Linked DNA regions of Homo sapiens: regions 1 and 2 are each linked to region 3. Evidence: promoter capture Hi-C in 16 types of primary human blood cells and fetal thymus (Javierre and others, 2016). All regions are on one chromosome and are shown on one strand. The core of a region is centred on a gene start or on the middle of the fragment in contact, and the rest is flanking DNA. Distances in the headings are between cores, read along the strand shown. Region 1 holds the start of CD27 (CD27 molecule). Region 2 has its middle 23 kb from the start of APOBEC1. Region 3 holds the start of PHB2 (prohibitin 2).

Region 1 (3,810 bases), core at 958-3,457, 530 kb after region 3:
GTGTATTAAAGACGTTCCTTTTTGGTTGATTTGCAATGGAAAAGCTTTTGTTTTCTTTTTTTTTTTGGAAACAGGGTCTCACTCTGCTCACTCTGTCTCCCAAGCTGGAGTGCAGTGGTACAGTCACGGCTCACTGCAGCCTCCACTTCCTGGACTCAAGTGATCTTCTCACTTCAGCCTTCTGAGTAGCTGGGACTACAGGTTCGTGCCACCACGCCTGGCTAACTTTTTGTATTTTTAGTAGAGACAGGGTTTTGCCATGTTGCCCAGGGTGTTCTTAAACTCCTGGGCTCAAGGGATCCGCCTGCCTTGGCCTCCTAAAGTGCTGGGATTACAAGTGTGAGCCACTGCTCTGGCTTTTTGTGTGTGTGTGTGTGTGTGTGTGAAAAAGGGTTTTGCTCTGTTACCCAGGCTGGAGTGCAGTGATGTGAGCAGCCTGGACCTCTTGGGGACCTCTTGGGCTCAAGTGATCTTCCCATCTCAGCCTCCCAAGTAGCTGGGACTGCAGGTGCACTACCATGACCAGCCAATTTTTTTAGAGACAAGGTCTCACTATGTTGCCCAGCTGGTCTCAAGCTCCTGGGCTCAAGTCTCTACAAAATATGCAAATACCCTTCTGCCTTGGCCTCCCAAGTGCTGGGATTATAGGCATGAGCCACCACATCTGGTGTTGGTTTTTGTTTTTGTTTTTACGGGACCAGGCACTACAGCTCACACCTGTAATCCTGGCACTTTCAGAGGCTGAGACTAGAAGATTGCTTGAGCCCAGGAGTTCAAGGCTGTGGGGAGCTATGATTGCACCACTGCACTCCAGCCTGGGTGACAGAGCTAGACCTTGTCTCTAAACTAAACAAAACAAAACCCAGTACCAAGAGACCCAGTGACACCAAACACGTTTTGCAAGTAGGTAGTTTAATAGTTACAGTTACCTGGTTCTAAAAAGTGTCTTGCTAGAGAACATTTGTTCAAAGGGGCCACTTTAAAGCCTGCTATTCTAGTGTATACTGGCCGTAGTTTCTGAAATTGTAGCGAAGATGGAGAAATAATAACAGCATTCATAAGCACAACTGCAGATATTATACTTCTTAGTTTAAAAAAAACCTTTTTTTTTGGAACTATAAAATAAAAACACAGGCTACATACATACTCATTTTCTCAAATTGGCTTTTGTGCAAAAAAAGGTTGTTACCTATTGGGTTGCTTTGTTATTTCCTTAGAAAGATGTATTCCAAATTCCCAATGGCCAACCTGCACATGTGCACTCTGGGAACACAGTCAGTTTATTGGTTGGGGGTTGCTTGCCCGAAATCTGGGGTCATAGAGCCACTTCTCTCATTTTATTGTCTTGATCCTATCCATAGACCCGTTCTCACCAATCCCTCAAATTCTATTTATCCCTTTCCTGGAATACTAGATGTCTGCCCACGTTAATTCATGCCCCACCTAGGGTGCCGCATTTCCCAGCATTGGCTCCACTTGCTGTGAGCCTTGAAGAAGGCCAAAGCTTTGGCCCCGTCATCCTCCTTGCACCCCCAAACCCGTCACCAGCCTTGCTCCCCCAGATGCTTGTCCATCGTCCCCACCTACACACCCTTGCCCACCTCACCAGAGTTACAGTGCCGACAGCTCTCACAGTGGGGCCGGGTGTGGTGGTCAGGAGAGAAGGAGACCCCCGGTATGCAAGGATCACACTGAGCAGCCTTTCTATGCTGGTCACAGTCCTTCACGAGGAATGTTCCTGGGAGGAGAGGGTAAGGGATCAAGGCCTGAGAAGGGCTGGTTCTCTGCCCTCTTCAAGGTGGTGCCTCCCCACAGCTGCAGGATTTCCCTCCTTGCTTGAGCTCAGTCTCACCCTGCGCCTATTTACTGTATTAACCCCAGTCCTCTCTCTTTCGCCACTCACCTGGCCCTTACCAAGGCCCCCTCTTACCTGGCTCACACATCTGGCAGCACAGCTTTCCCTGAGCCCAGTAGTGCCTCTCTGGGCAGCTCTTGGGGGCTGGAGTAGCTGAGAGCCCCACCAGGGTCCCCAGAACGCACAGCCACCAGGGATGTGGCCGTGCCATGGTCCCTGCCCAGGCGGCTCCTTTCTGTGCCCAGTTGCTGATGCTGGCCTCTGGAGTTAGCACCTCCAAGCTGGGCGCTGCTGTCTCTTCTTTGCACCCCCTGGGCAGTGGCTGCTTCAGGTGGCAAGCCAACCTTTGAAGGCAGAATCTCTATTGTGGCTGTTTTTTTTTTCTCTCTCATAGCAGCAACCTCCACCCCCTTCCCCTTCCGTGTGCTGGGGAGAGTATTAAAGAGCAAACTCTGTGAGACCTGCTGCTCTTCAAACATGCTTCCTCCAACACATGAGCCTTCCTTAGTTTCCGCCTCTCCTGCTCATGAAGCACGTAGCCCACTGACTCCTGCTTCTTTGACAAAAAGGTGATGGACACACAGTTGCTCACCCCTCCTATTCATGCACTTGTGCACAAAGGTGCCCACGTTACCCCCCCCCACCCACCCCCCCGTCCACAGTTTACAGACGAATTCGCAGGACTCCTGTCTCCCATACCTGCATCCCTCCTTTCACAGACAACAGTTGAAAGAAGGAAGGAGAACCAGAATTGAGCACAGGTCCACAAGCTCTTATCTGAAACTTTGGGGGTCAGATAAGTTTTGGAATTCAGAATTTTTCAGGTTTATACAGAAACCAGCACCACAAAACACCCTTGGGGAGTTGGGGTAGTCTCATAATCAAACGCAACATTTCTGCAGCAAAACTATTGAATATTTACACCAACTGGGAGGAAGCTTAAATAGCCTTGTCTCAATTGAGGTCTGGTTTGATGGCCAAACGAGTTTGCTACAGAATGCTCAGAATTGCAAGCAAGGGGTGTAGAGCTGCCTCTCTTCTGTCACACTCTGACCGATCACCTATGCTCTCCTTTAATCCTCATGTCAGTCTCTGATGTGGGTGCCACCTACTGCCCACATGGCCTTCCCTCTCAGACCCTTGCTCACTCCTCACTTTTGTGCCATCTTTATCCTCCCCTTTCCCACCTCTGGCTGTGTCAGTCACTGGTGTCCTGGATCGCCTGGAGCATCTTCTCTCCTAGCCTTGGGCACTTGGGATTAAAGGTAGCTTCCTACGGGGGTCATCTCTTTTTTATTTTCCCAGTTCTCCCAGCAAGACTGATTTCGGGATATTGGAAACAGCTAGACTTTTCCCTCTTTGAGTCATGGGGACACACACGGGTCAACAGCCTCCTCCACTCTTTCCTCAGCAACCGATATGTGGAGTGGCTTATTTCCCCAGGAAGTTTTTAATTTAGGGGCTTTGCCGTTGTTTCCACACTGTTCATAAATGTCACACTGCTGTGGTCACACCTGTCAGATCTGTTCTCTATCTCACTCTGTAGTTTCCTTTCTCCTCATTTTCTCCATTCTCTTGTCTTTTCCCAGCCCCCTCTGCAGCTCTTCATGGGGGTCCACTCAAGTCAGAAGCCACATTTGGGTGTGATTCAGAGAGCTGTTTATGCAAAACCAGCTTTGTCACCATCAGGCAAGGCACCTGAATTCCCACCGCAGAGAGTGTTGTGGCCGTGAGGACTTTTCTGTCACCAGCCATTTCCAGGTTGTGGTAAATGTGTTCACTGCAGGCATGGGGCAGTGGGGTGGCTAGCTGACTGCAGGCCCTGGGAGGGTGGATGAGACCCTCAGAAGAATCATGAGGAACTGGGGACCTTTAGGAAGAAACTTGTCGAACAGGGACTTGCAGTTCGCTGAGCCTAGCAACCTTGAACCGACTGGGAACTGCTCACTAGCCTA
Region 2 (3,417 bases), core at 358-2,857, 670 kb before region 3:
ATGCAATCCCATGTATAATTAAATCTCGCTGCAAATATGCCTTAAAAGGAATTTTAATATTTGGTGGCAGATTTTGAGAGGAAAGGCAGAAATAATAAAAAGTACCCGATGAGGTAGGAGTAGCCCTCACTCAGTTACTTATCTTTTATGATTTTCAGTTTAAGATCTTCTATTTCTCCACATTGATATTCAGGACGTGCCTCTGGGCTGTCAGAGGTTGATCCCTCAGCTGTTCAGGCTTTGACTTGAATGTGGAAGTCAGGAGTTGATTCCTGTAACTTTTACTGCCAATGGTGTTGAAAGAAGAACAGTGTAGGGCCTTTCCCAGCTTGGCTTAGGGAAGGAGACAGAGATGAGGGTTTTCACTAACACCAAATTTCCTGGGTTAAATAAAGGTGGTTCTGTTTCCTGGGGTTGGACTTCTGTTAGTTGCGTTAATTCTTGTTGGAAGTGAGCTAGAGAGGTTACATGCTTAACCAATTTAGAGGTTTCCTGCCTGAAAACAATCTCTGAGCACACTGATAAGTTTTATCCTTTCCCAAGTGAAAAGCTTGGTGAAGGATTTTAAGGACATTGGCTGGAGGCTGGCAAATGGAGTTTGCCATCCTCTGACTGTAGCCTTTCTGAGGGCTGGGAACTACGTCCTCGAGAAGTGGCCTATTTTATTTCTGCAGGGAAATACTGAGGTTTAATTTTTCTTATGGAGCCTTCCTAGATTAGAAGGGGCTTAAGTGCCTTAACGGCTTGAGGCTTCCTTGCCTCTGACTTAACTGCCTGATCAGCTAACCTATTTCCTTTGGCTACCTCATTTGTTCCCTTTTGATGTTCCTTACAATGCATTCCTGCTATTTCTTGTGGAAGAAAAACTGAAGATAACCTGCTAATTTCCTGGTGATATTTTTATAGGGGATCTATTAATGGTAAGAAAATGTCTTTTCTTTCTTTCTTTCTTTTTGAGACGAAGTCTCGCTCCGTCGCCCAGGCTGGACTGCAGTGGCGCGATCTCGGCTCACTGCAACCTCCACCTCCCAGGTTCACGCCATTCTCGTGTCTCAGCCTCCCAGGTAGGTGGGACTACAGGCGCCTGCCACCACGCCTGGCTAATTTTTTGTATTTTTAGTAGAGACGGGGTTTCACCATGTTAGCCAGGATGGTCTTGATCCCCTGACCTCGTGATCCGCCCGTCTGGCCTCCCAAAGTGTTGGGATTACAGGCGTGAGCCACCGCCTGGCCGAAAATGTCTTTTCTTTCAAATGGCAGCATGAGCATGGAGAACCAAGAAAGCATACTTGGAGTTAGTATAAATGTTAGCTACCTTTCCCTTGCTTAATCCAAGTGTGCTTGTAAAAGCTGTTAGCTCAGCTAATTGAGCGCTTGTGCCTGGGGAGAGACGTTATTTAGAGTGACTACTGCTTATCCTGCCTTATGTACTTCTTGCTTTACTGGCGGTTTGTTGGCTAAGAGCTCCCCCTAGAGGACAGTAATCCTGCCACATTATGTGGGGTGTAAACAGTTAAATTATTTCCTAGGGTTAACTTGGAGGCTTTTCTGATTAGCGAGCTGTCATGATAATGGCTTGGAAGCACGTGTCAACTAAGGTTGAGAAAAATACTGGAGTAGAGTTTTTCCTGAGATGCCCCTTCTGGTTGTGCTATGGGAAGAGGGGAGGCCTGGATTAGAGAGGAGAAAAAAGAGAGACTGGCTGAGTGTTTAGAAAGAGGTCTACTTTCCTTCTTTTAATTTCCAGAATCACTCAGAGCTCCTGTGCTGTAATGGCAGTTTGAGCCGCTGGAGCTGGAGTTTGAGCCCCGGGATCCAGTTCTGCTGGATCATCAGTAAGACTGGTTCTGAACCCAGTGACCTCCACCTCTGGGGGCAGTTCCATCTCCTGTTGTCTCTGCCACAGGCTGGAGAGGGTTGAGGTGGCTTTGTCTTGCTGTATGGGCATTCTTTCTTAACATGCTCTGGCCTGCCACACTGATAGCAACTAGCAGATGCACCTCCGGGATCCTGGACTTTGCAAGCCTGCAAAGCTGCTGCTAGAGTCTCTGTCCTTCTGACCATTGTCTCTTTCTTTTGGGCCTCCTCCTGGTTCCTATTACAAAAGACCAAAGTGGCCACTTTCAGGAAGTTCTCTAAGGTGCTATCTGGTCCTATAGCTTGCTTGTGTAGTTTCCTTTTAATATTGGCAGCTGCCTGTCTAATAAACTTGTCCTTTAGGATGAGCTGTCCCTCGACTGAATCAGGGGATAAGGAGGGGTGTTCTGTTAGTGCCTCTCTCAGCCTTTCCATAAAGGCTACAAGATTCTCATCTGGCTGTTTATCATGGACAGTTTAGAGTAATTGAGAGGTTTGGCCCTGGTTTTCCGTAGGCCCTCTAATGCACACTTAAAAAAGAGCTTCCTTTTCATCTCCTGAGTTATTGGGGTCCCAATTAGGGTTGTCAAGGGAAACTGCTTTCCTCCCAATTGGGAATGGCATTTCTGCTATTTCTTCTCTTTCCTTATCTGCTTTCTTCCCTTTTGGTGTATTATAGGAGATATGTTGCTAATCTCTGAAATCAGAGCTGCCTGCTTTTCAGCTGCAGTGAGGGTCTGACTTAGGAGCAACATAACATCCTTCCATCTGAGGTGAAATACCTGAGTTAAATTTTGGAAAGCTTTTTTTTTGAGACGGAGTCTCACTCTATTGCTAGGCTGGAGTTCAGTGCCGTGATCTTGGCTCACTGCAACCTCCACATCCTGGGTGCAAGCGATTCTCCTGCCTCAGCCTCCCAAGTAGCTGAGATTACAGGCACATGCCACAACGCCCAACTAATTTTTGTATTTTTAGTAGAGACGGGGTTTCACCATGTTGACCAGGATGGTCTCAATCTCTTGACCTCGTGATCTGCCCGCCTCAGCCTCCCAAAGTGTTGGGATTACAGGCGTGAGCCACTGCGCCCAGCCTGGAAAGCTTTTATATACCTATCAGGGTTGTGAGAAAATTGGCTAAGTCTCCCTTTATTACAGGCCTAAGGGGCTGTAACGAGAAGGGAACTTGAAGGGGCCCCCAAAGAAGGGGGATCTTCAGATGGCTCCTCTGGAAGTTGCTTTTCTAATTTTGGGGAATTATTTTCAGTGAGCGTGCCTGATATGATTCCTAAAAGAGCTGGGTTGATCTTACACTGCTTGCAAAGTTTCAGTAAAAATACCATGCCCTTGTGCAAAATAAAATGAGTTGCTCTTCTCTTTAATGTCCTGAGGCTAAGAAAGTTTCAGTGTTTCAGAGTGCACGCCAGAGGGGCACAAACTGAAGATAATCTGTTACCCATCTAGAAAGAAAAGCAATAAAAGTGTCCTTTTAATCTACTTTGATTCCCTATGACCCCCGACGGAGAATAACACAGTGGAGTGTCCTGTTTTCCTTCCCTGGTTC
Region 3 (3,477 bases), core at 416-2,915:
TCCATGAGACACCCTTAGTTATAGAAGAAAAAAACCTTCTTGAATGAATAATACAGTTTCAACCCATTAGTAGGATATAATCATGTTTTCTATTCTTTTAATAGATTACAGGCGCAGGCCTGTAATCCCAGCTACTCTGGAGGCTGAGGCAGGAGAATCGATTGAACCCGGGAGGCGGAGGCTGCAGTGAGCCAAGATCGTGCCACTGCACTCCAGCCTGGTAGAGACTGAGACTCCATCTCAAAAAAAAAAAAAAAAAAAAGTGTATTTAGAACGAAGATTAAAATCCTGGCCTGACTTCTAAACCAATGCGATTTCTTCTGGGCCTATTCAATTAGTTCTAACGGGTAAGAGAAAGGAGGAGGAAGAACACTGCCCAAGGCTTTAAGATAGAGAACTGCTGGTTCTATTACATGTGGGGAAAGAGATGAATGATAGATAAAAATGCAGATGTAAAAGTTTTAAATAATAACCAGGTCTGGACAGTGTATCATAGGTGGATATTAGAGAGAGGTGACTATGGATACTAATGAATTGAAACACGAAGCCCTTACAAAAAGTGTGGGCAGACTAGGCTACATAACTACGTTTCTCATCTGCCCAGTAACTTGTCTTGGGATGTGGAATGACGCAAGGAACGAAACTTTCCTCTGCTTAGACTACTATACCACAGAATCCTGGTAAACCAATTGGAAGCAAGGAGGTGAGGGCTAGAATATCATTCAAAAAGAGCAAAAGAAAATGAGTACTACCGGCCGGGCACAGTGGCTCACGCCTCTAATCCCAACACTTTGGGAGGCCGAGGCGGGCGGATCACTTGAGGTCAGGAGTTCGAGACCAGCGTGGCCAACATGGTGAAACCCCATCTGAACTAAAAATACAAAAAAATTAGCCGGGCGTGGTGGCACCTGCCTGTAGTCCCAGCTACTCCAGAGGCTGAGTCAGGAGAACTGTTTGAAGGCGGGAGGCAGAAGTTGCAGTGAGCCGAGGTCGCGCAACTGCACTCCAGCCTGGGCGACAGAGCGAGACTCCGTCTCAAAAAAAAAAAAAAAAAGAAAGAAAAATGAGTACTACCATCCCAGGATGTCAAATCAACGCAAAGCCAACCAAGCCACCTTCCTTCAAAAGCATCTTTCACCCCTCTCTGCTTTCTACATCCACTCTGGGCCCCTTACCCTCATTCCACGGAGTCCCAACCTATCGATTTACTACTTCTCCACTTCCTGTCCCAAACTACCTTGACTGTCTCCAGACTGGCCCCTTCCAGCACCACAATAAGCCTACGGCCTCCGATCTTGTTTCCTGCCCCTAGTCGGGGCCGCTTGGGTGGCAGAGCATCCCAGTCCTGTGCCTGCTCCCCACCGCTTCGTTCACGAGGCTTGAATCCATCACTGGGCGCGGCCATCTTGCAACAATACCGGAAGTTGCGCTAACGCTCTTAAATAAGAACAGCGCGGCTTCTAATCACAAATTTCCTTCCGGCTGCCATTTTGAAAGTGGGCCAGGAAATGGAGATGACTTGCTGTCTTGCGCTGCCCTCCCTGGGAGGGCAGCCTTCCAGAAAGGGGCGGGACTTCCGTATGCGCGATTCCTGTGCGCGAAGTTCGGGTCCGTAGTGGGCTAAGGGGGAGGGTTTCAAAGGGAGCGCACTTCCGCTGCCCTTTCTTTCGCCAGCCTTACGGGCCCGAACCCTCGTGTGAAGGGTGCAGTACCTAAGCCGGAGCGGGGTAGAGGCGGGCCGGCACCCCCTTCTGACCTCCAGTGCCGCCGGCCTCAAGATCAGACATGGCCCAGAACTTGAAGGACTTGGCGGGACGGCTGCCCGCCGGGCCCCGGGGCATGGGCACGGCCCTGAAGCTGTTGCTGGGGGCCGGCGCCGTGGCCTACGGTGTGCGCGAATCTGTGTTCACCGGTGAGCAACCTCCGCCTGCTCGCCGGACGCTTCCAGTCCCTCCCCCAAACCCCTTGCCCTGTCCCCGCGCCCCTCCACGGGCCTAGCATTTCCTCTGAGCAGCGGCCTGGCCTGATCACCACCCATCTCCCCACAGTGGAAGGCGGGCACAGAGCCATCTTCTTCAATCGGATCGGTGGAGTGCAGCAGGACACTATCCTGGCCGAGGGCCTTCACTTCAGGTAATGGCGGGCAGAGCCTGCTGACCCTGACCTTTCACCCTTGACGCCGACCCAGCAGTGGCTATAGTCGGACGTGCAACAGGATTCAACGCTGCTCTTTTCCCACCCTCCTCATCCCTGCCCCTAGGATAGTGGGTGCTGCGAGAACCTCCAGCAGCATACAAACTGTTGTTTTCCAGAGGGACAAGAGAATCTCTCCTTGTCTGTGGTCGTGGAGAGGAGCAGGCCAAAAAACGCGTGGTGAGGGGAAACCGGGCAAGGCTAGTGAAACTGCGGCCTTTTCTTTTTTTTTTTTTGGAGAGGGAGTCTTGCTCTGTCGCCCAGGCTGGAGTGCAGTGGCGCGATCTCGGCTCACTGCAACCTCCGCCTCCTGATTTCAAGCGATTCTCCTGCCTCAGCCTCACGAGTAGCTGGGATTACAGGCGCCCGCCACCACGCCCGGCTAATTTTTGTATTTTAGTAGAGACGGGGTTTCACTATGTAGATCAAGCTGGTCTCGAACTCCTGACCTCAAATGATCCGCCCGCCTCGGCCTCCCAAAGTGCTGGGATTACAGGCGTGAGCCACCGCGCCCGGCCGAAACTGTGGCCTCTTAATACCTATCCCTGTCCTCTCCAGGATCCCTTGGTTCCAGTACCCCATTATCTATGACATTCGGGCCAGACCTCGAAAAATCTCCTCCCCTACAGGCTCCAAAGGTAGGTCTGAGCACTTGGTAATCACATGGCAGGTGGGATGATCAAGGTAGCTGGCAAGAAACCCCAGGGGAATATGGTAGTGTCAGGCCTTTAGGCCTCTTTCCACATCTGCAAGAGCTGTAACAAAAATACCTGCCTCCTGGGGTCAAAGCAGCAAATTCTGAACACACTGTGTTTGCGTGCTTTTTACTGTCTCCTCCCTGACGTGTATTCAATAAGAGTATTGTTTGTCCCTCGTCTTGTTCACTGCCTAGATCAAAGCTTTGTTTTAAAGCCTTTTTTTTCTAACTGCTTGACTTACTATATCTACAGTTACATCCACTAGTACACTCTGTTCTGGAGAAGTTTGTCCCTAAGCTTGACTAGTTCACCTGTTCTCTCCTTCTAGACCATACATAAAAGCCGTGCCTTTGAGTTCCCCAGACCTCTTCCTCCTCCCCACCCACGCACACATATACACCCTGGGTCAGGTAGCTCACCTGTAACCTGTAATGTACTTCTTTGTGCTATACCTAGTGCAGGTCGCTTATTCATTTACTAGACTGGGCCCTGGGAATAAAAGATTCATTAAACACAATTCTTGTCCCCCAAGTCCTTACAGGAGACATGATTACGGTACAGCACGAAAGCGCCCACGTTAGAGGTT

The links. The method cuts DNA at HindIII sites, captures the fragments that hold promoters and counts their contacts. A CHiCAGO score of 5 or more calls a contact.
Region 1: the fragment with the promoter of CD27 here is called in contact with the fragment with the promoter of PHB2 in region 3 in 4 of 17 cell types (non-activated CD4 T cells, activated CD4 T cells, naive CD4 T cells and 1 more); the score reaches 8.9 in non-activated CD4 T cells.
Region 2: a fragment that was not itself captured here is called in contact with the fragment with the promoter of PHB2 in region 3 in 4 of 17 cell types (fetal thymus, naive CD4 T cells, naive CD8 T cells and 1 more); the score reaches 7.5 in fetal thymus.

Annotation. Positions count from the first base shown.
Region 1 is chr12:6,443,352-6,447,161 of GRCh38, reverse strand. CD27 (CD27 molecule) reads right to left here and starts at 2,207. Exons shown (of 6, transcript NM_001242.5): 1 at 1,931-2,207; 2 at 1,607-1,738. The coding sequence starts at 2,066. It overlaps CD27-AS1 (CD27 antisense RNA 1), which reads left to right. Exons shown (of 6, transcript NR_015382.2): 4 at 75-201; 5 at 3,445-3,616. RefSeq lists enhancers at 927-1,046, 1,756-1,935, 1,966-2,025, 1,570-2,071, 2,976-3,025 and 1 more. The HindIII fragment of the contact is 1,289 bases long and covers 1,507-2,795 here.
Region 2 is chr12:7,641,098-7,644,514 of GRCh38, reverse strand. No RefSeq gene overlaps it. Among named protein-coding and RNA genes, the nearest start is that of APOBEC1, 23 kb to the left of the region's middle. The HindIII fragment of the contact is 2,109 bases long and covers 553-2,661 here.
Region 3 is chr12:6,968,852-6,972,328 of GRCh38, reverse strand. It overlaps PHB2 (prohibitin 2), which reads left to right and starts at 1,665. Exons shown (of 10, transcript NM_001144831.2): 1 at 1,665-1,912; 2 at 2,049-2,133; 3 at 2,752-2,831. The coding sequence starts at 1,786. It overlaps EMG1 (EMG1 N1-specific pseudouridine methyltransferase), which reads right to left and starts at 1,416. Exons shown (of 6, transcript NM_006331.8): 1 at 1,238-1,416. The coding sequence starts at 1,405. RefSeq lists enhancers at 1,109-1,228, 1,279-1,458, 1,549-1,618, 1,139-1,741. The HindIII fragment of the contact is 5,065 bases long and covers 1-3,094 here.